Regions from separate parts of the Homo sapiens genome. Here region 2 is linked to region 1. The links are contacts of gene promoters, found by promoter capture Hi-C in human tissues and cell types (Jung and others, 2019). All regions are on one chromosome and are shown on one strand. Each heading gives the region's core, a stretch centred on a gene start or on the middle of the fragment in contact. The rest is flanking DNA. Distances are from core to core; before and after follow the strand shown. Region 1 holds the start of MRPS18A (mitochondrial ribosomal protein S18A). Region 2 has its middle 53 kb from the start of LINC03040.

The links. The method cuts DNA at HindIII sites, captures the fragments that hold promoters and counts their contacts. A contact is called where the count stands out against the background at its distance.
Region 2: a fragment that was not itself captured here is called in contact with the fragment with the promoter of MRPS18A in region 1 in 4 of the 25 tissues and cell types used here (IMR-90 fibroblasts, adrenal gland, neural progenitor cells and 1 more).

What each region holds. Positions count from the first base shown.
Region 1 is chr6:43,686,018-43,689,375 of GRCh38, forward strand. MRPS18A (mitochondrial ribosomal protein S18A) reads right to left here and starts at 1,774. Exons shown (of 6, transcript NM_018135.4): 1 at 1,651-1,774. The coding sequence starts at 1,762. LOC124901320 (a long non-coding RNA gene) reads left to right here and starts at 2,945. Exons shown (of 2, transcript XR_007059586.1): 1 at 2,945-3,322. RefSeq lists enhancers at 1,528-1,587, 1,533-2,144. The HindIII fragment of the contact is 2,163 bases long and covers 404-2,566 here.
Region 2 is chr6:43,945,740-43,949,097 of GRCh38, forward strand. No RefSeq gene overlaps it. Among named protein-coding and RNA genes, the nearest start is that of LINC03040, 53 kb to the right of the region's middle. The HindIII fragment of the contact is 7,768 bases long and covers 1-3,358 here.

The sequences.
Region 1 (3,358 bases), core at 524-3,023:
AGACTCCAATTTCTGGGCTCAAGTGATCCTCCCACCTTGGCCTTCCAAAGTGCTGGGATTAAAGATATGTACCACTGTACCTGGCTTACAGTCCATCATTTCACAAACTCTCCAAAGGAAAAAATTAAGTCTAACTTCAAATATTTGTTGTTAAAACAAAACGATTCCTCTTGCCTTTTTTTCTGGAAGCATAGCAAAATCTGCCTCAACTTTGAATTTCATAAGAATATGCAAATTGTAGCCAATAGTGTTTGACACTTGGTAGACTCCCCAAAATGGTATGGAGATATGCCTATTTTGCAGCATGGGAACAAATGAAACATCCAAGTCCTCTCTATCATCTGCATGATTTCTTTAGTGTCTTTATTAATGGGTCTACTAATGGATAAGTTAATCAGGCAATATCCAGACTTTTTTTTCTAGCAAATGCTCCACTTCCCTTACGGGCTAAATTCTTCAAACATACTTACTATTTCCATCTCTTCATCAACTATCTCTTTCATTTCTCCAAACTGGATTCCTTGTTTGCCACTCTATTGAAATTGCTGTTTGAAAGCTACAAAGAGACCTCTTCTGAGACAAATCCAATGGCCCCTTCATTAGGCCCTTTTTAGACTTTTCTGCTCCCTCTGACAACAATGATCACTCTTTTCCACTGGATACTTCTCAGCTTTCGTTAAAGGATATGCTGCCCAATACTATGCCAGATCCTCAAAAAACCCCACATCTCTTCTTTTGCACATCACTCATCCTTTCCTGCTTCCAGGAGTACACAAAGGAAGGCTATGTCCTAAAAGACCGTTTCACTCTCCGCCAGATTCCATCCTTTTGTGAGCCTGCTCAAGACACATCCTCTTTATGAAAACTTCCAACTGGGTTTGCCGTTTCCAGTAACTGAGTCTCCCTGTACTTCGTCACGTAAAAGGCTAACTTGCATTTATTGGAGTGTGTATATACATAATCTCATTAGAACCTAAGCTTTTCAGAAAAAGGGCTGTATTTTCTGTCTCCAGAATTCCTTCACAGCTTGAAGCATAGCACTTGGCATTCAGTAAACTCTCAGTTGATGCTCGAATCAGGCCGCTTTCCCAGATTAAGATTAATGAAAAGCTGAACTACCATCCTGCATTTGCCTATGTCTCAGCTATTCAATGGCCTTTCCACTTTGGCCTCCCCCTCACAGGGAGACTAGCGGCCCGGGGCAGAGAACGCCGCCATCAGATCACAGCATTTTGAGAAGGGAAAGTGGAAAGGGAGGCTCTGGGAGGGTACCCAGATGGCCTTCCTTCGTGATCCAGAGACTCTTTAATAAAAGAGACTGCGATTCGGAGAACATGGAAGGAAGAATTAACATGCAAACCCTTTCCGAAAACTTTTCTGAGCCCTAGGACAGGTTTAGTGTCTGCTCCTGCTAAGTAAGCAGGCTTTTCTCTCCGTCCTCCTCCGCCTTGTGAAGATACTCACAAGGGGCAGGAGATCAAGATAAGGCACCAGGGTGTGGAAGGGGCTTTTAAGCACGCCTGGGGAGCCGGTACCTCCAAAGTTTCAGAATCGGACGAAGGAAAGGTAGGAAGGAGCGCACCGGGGCTGGCGGAAGCAGTCTCTGCCGCTCTTCTTAATTTCAGGAGGTTGCTGGGACGCATGACTCACCTTCCCTGAACCCGCGAGCTGGAAGCCGAGACCAGCTGGTCGCTGCCGGGCCCGCTAGTAGCCCACGGAGAAGCCGCCCACAGCCGGACACCAGAGCCTTGAGGGCCGCCATCTTCAAAAACCTACCCTGACCTCTCGTCCATTTCCGCTTCCGGAACGTAGCGCCCGCCGCCGCAGTGGTGGGGCAGGAACGGCGGGGCGGGGTTGTAGTTCGCTTGCTCCTGTCACATCATTTCTCTCACCTGTCCGCTTTGGGATACGAAGAGAGGCTTCTGCGTCAAGCCTATATTTCGTGTTAAGGATCTAGGGGAGGTCTTCTAGCTCCTGTCTGCCAATGCCTACAAGTCTTCAAGGTTGCATTCGTTTCCTGGAAGGCTTCCTTAGGAAAATCGCACGCAACACCCCACCTATGTCTTTAAAGCTTTCTCTTCACTGCACGTGAGCTGTGGACTTTTAGCTTCTGTGACTGGGGCTAGACCTCTACGGGAGAGGCTGAAATGGTTAGGAACTCTGGCTCTGGAGTATCGGATATCAGGCAGACCTGGGATAGAATTGATACCCCCTTCTTCCCTGACCACTGCCACACTGATCTTTGATTTGCATATACTTAGACCTCTCTCTAGCCCCAGGGCCTTGATACAAGCTATTTCCTTTGTCTGCTCTTTAGCTGTCTAGTTAGCTTCTGCTTATTTCTTAGAGCTCACCTCAAACCTTATTTCCACAGTTTTGCTTGACTGCCCATTCTCAGCACCAGATGCCTCTCCATCTTAGTGCTTGGGACAATTTCAGTTTTATGTTTGTTTTGTATGTGTCTTCTCACCAGACTGTAAGCTCCATGAAGTCAGGAACATTGTTTTCTGTTGACTCGCACATCTCCAGCACTTAGAATAGTTCCTGACACATAATAAGAGTACAATATATACTTGTTGAATGAATGAGTAGAATCTATTTTATAGGGCCTAGGGGAGGACTAGACCCTGAAGATTAGATGTGATAAAACATAAGTGATCGGCCGGGTGTGGTGGCTCATGCCTGTAATCCCAGCACTTTGGGAGGCTGAGGCGGGTGGATTACCTGAGGTCAGGAGTTCAAGACCAGCCTGACCAACATGGTGAAACCCTATCTACTAAAAATACAAAAATTAGGTGGGTGTGGTGGCGGGCACCTGTAATCCCAGACACTTGGGAGGCTGAGGCAGGAGAATCGCTTGAACCCAGGAGGCGGAGGTTGCAGTGAGCCAAGATCACACCATTGCACTCCAGCCTGGGCGACAAGAGTGAAACTCCGTCTCAAAAACAAAACAAAACAAAACAAAACAAAACAAAAGGGCTCAATAAACATAAGCTAGTTAATAGAGCAGTTATGGAGATGACTCTTTTCACAAGTTGGACTCACTTGTGTTGTAAGGAAGCTTATGGTACCAAAGAGAAAATACAACTGCCAGTTTTTCCTCTTTCAGATTTGTGAGACGTATAGGATGTTCCTCTGGAGCTCCACAGGAAAGGAAAATCATTCACAACTCAGTTCTTCCTATCCTTCTCTGATTCAAGATGGGAAAATCAGGCTTATTAAATGACATAGCATGTTTTCTGATGAGTAGGAGAGGAGCCCATCATCCAGTTGGGACCGTCACCCTAATAGGAGGATGCAGAGCAGCTGCTGTATGGAAAATGTGAGTGGCATCACCATAGACAGGGAGAACAGGAGA
Region 2 (3,358 bases), core at 510-3,009, 260 kb after region 1:
GAAGGACTTGACTGGGCAGTTCTCACTCACAGTCTCTCATGCAGTTGCTGTCAGATATCAGCTAGGGCTAGATATCCAAGAGAGCTTCCTTATGTGTCTGGCAGTTGGTGCCAGTTGTTGGTTATGAGCTCAGCTAATGTTGTTAACCAGAGCACCTATACGTGACCTCTTTCACATAGCAGCCTCAGGGTAGTTGGATGCCTTACATGGCAGCTGGCTTCTCCCAGAGTGAGTATCCCAAAAGAGCCAGGCAGAAGATGCATGACTTTTTCTGACCTAGCCTCAGAAGTCACACAACATCATTTCTTCCGAGTTCTGTTAGGCACAGGAAGTGACTAAAGCTTCAAGGGGAATAAATTCAAGGGGAGGGATAAGAGGCCCTCCTACCTCTCAATAGGAGTACTGAAAAATTTGCAGCCAAATTTTAAAACTTCCACAGAGGTAAAAGAATTAAGCTTCTATAGTTAAGAAAATTCCAGTAGATTGGTGATCTCTTCTGAACAATGAGATGGTCTATACTCTATCCCAATGAACTGCCTATCAGCCTTCTGCCCCAGGAAGATCTCACAAGCCTGGCTGAGCCAGGTCACATAAACATCTTCACAACACAATGCTTTGCTGCTAGAGGTGGTCAAAATGCAGGTGGCACCCCAGCTCCACATCCACATTCACAATGACTCCCCAACCCTCACCCACCCTCGCCCCTCCTGAAGTCTGTTTTCCCCACAGAAGTGGCAAGGAATCTCCTCAGAAAGCCCAAGAAAGCATGAAATGGCAGAATTAGAAATGATTTCGGGTGGCATATATCTGTCCTTGGGCTTCCCAAACCTGGCTGATCCTTAGTACACTTGCTAAGATGGGAGATTCTCCAACTGGGAGAAGACATTTGCCACTTAAAAACCTGGCAGCGATTAATATGTAAAATAGTCAAGCTCAAGGTTGAGCACTGGAGCCAGAAGAGAGAGAGAGAGAGAGAGAAAGAAAATAGTCAAGGAACTCCTGTTAATCATCAAGAAAAAGACAGGAAACTCAATAGAAAAAAAAAATGGGCAAAAAATATGAATAGGCACATCCTAAAAGAGGGAGTGCAGTGGCTGATGAAGAGATATGCTAATTCACTAGTCATCAGAGAGATGCATGCTTCAAACAATAATATAGCTTCACGCCTAAGTGAATGGCACAAATTAGAAAGGTGGATCATGCTCAGTATAGGGAGATGGGACTCTTGTGTCCTATAGGCGAGAGGATAAACTAGTACAGCCATTCTGAGAGCAATCTGTCTGTATCTAGTGAAACTAAATATGTGTATGGCCTGCATCCCAGAATCTCACAAATGGGTCTATAGCAGGGGAGAATGATCATGCAGGAATGAAAGAGGACTTGTACATGGTGCTTGTGGCAGCAAAATTTGGGGTAGTAGGAAGTCGGAGGCAACATAAATGTTCATCCCTGGAGGAGTAGATAAGTAAGGTGGGTGGCTTCTTTCCAAGTGGCAGTTAGAAACAGGCCAGATGTACAGACATAGATCTTAATAGCAATGTTGAATGAAAAAAGTGAGAAACAGAAGGAGAATTACAGCATAGTACCATTTATATAAATTATAAAACATGCAGAAAACACCACCACCCGGCATACAAAGAAGATGCATATTTAAAGACCTATATCAAACACATAGAATGAAGGTCTAGGTCTGGTCGGAAGGCGGGAAGAATGAGAGTGGAAATGTAGGTGAAGGAGAAAAAATACAATGAAAAGTAACATTTCAAGGGGGCTTTGAATAGACTACTGTTAGGATGCTGGGAATCAATGAGTATAATTGAATCAATTATCTATATCTGAGGTAAAAATAAATAAGTAAAGCAGATTTCTAGACTTTAACTACAGGGATTCAGTTTCAATAAGCCTGTAGTGAGCCCAAGAATATGGGCCCTGGTGATTGTCAATGCTCACTCCAACATCCTAGATAGATGATCACAGTGGCTACCTGAAAACACCTGGTGATGGGAGCCCATTCCTGTACTAGTGGGCTGTTCCAATTCTTGATAGGACTTCCTAAGGCCAAGATTTACCTCTCTGTACCTTCCAAACCATTGATCCAAGTTCTGTTCTTCAGAACAAATAAAATAATCAGGTTCCTCCTGCTTCTGCATGCCAGTCCTTTAGTAAACCAGAGAGAGTCAGCATATTCCTCTCCCATCCCACAGGCACAGGCATCTTGTCCAAACTCGATAGCTCTCCATTCCTCCAGCATCTCCAAGCCCACCAAGGTTCTCTCCTCTACCCTGCTCCCACCCCAGCCAAGCTGTTCCCCTAGGTCTGTTCTAACTGCCAATGTTTCTCCTCAAACATGGCTCCTCAGAGAGACCCCACACTCCGAGTACAGCCTGACCAGCTCAGAGCATAGCAGAACATATACCTCCTGTCAGGGCCCTGTGTTCCTGTGGGTATAACCTCACATTACAGTCAGTTTGGTGTTTTTTGTTTGTTTGTTTGTTTTTGTTTTTAATTAGCGCTCAGTGAGTTTATGGTGGGCCAGACTTACAGGTCTTTTTCACTAGAATTGATACAAGGGCTGCTTTATCCATTTACACACACACACACACACACACACACACAAATATATATATGGCACAAAAAAATACACAAAAGATATACATACAGTACAAAGCAAGACCCCAGCCAGCCACTTTTCAGATACACTTTTCTTGTGTATCTGTCTGCAGATGATCTGTACATATACAAACGGAGACACACATTCCTAATCATACAAAGAGCTGCATAGTCTACACTATCAGTGTGCACTGTCGGGCACCTTGCTTTTTCACTTAACCAGGTATCTTGGGGAATTTTCCTTATCCGTACATAATTCCTTGGCTCATTCTCTGTATCAGGCCCATAGCCTTCCATTGTGTGGATCTACCTAAAGTATTCAACCAATCCCCTACTGGTGGACATTTTGGTTGTTTCTAGGCCTTTGCAGCATTTAAGGCCATGTTGCCAGGACTCCTTTTGCACATAAGTCAGCATTTCTGTAGGATCAATCCCCATGTGCCTTTTGACTTGATTTTTTTCTCTCCCTAGAGCTGGACTTGTCACTTATGCCTACTGTTGATCTCTCTTGTTGGTTTTACCCATTGTTCCAGGCACTGTCAGGCTAATTTTGAATCCTCATTGTGCTGCCAAGCCTGCTCCTCTCAGCTGTGGGTCATCTGCAAACAGAGGGAGGGGAGCTTCTCAGGTCTCCATTCAAGCAATTGATAAAAATGTTGAGGGGGATGGGGCCAAGGACAAGGGCCGTGAAACAAGCCCTAGAGAATTCCAGGTGTCCATTCATCATTTGTCACCATGGTTGAGTCCC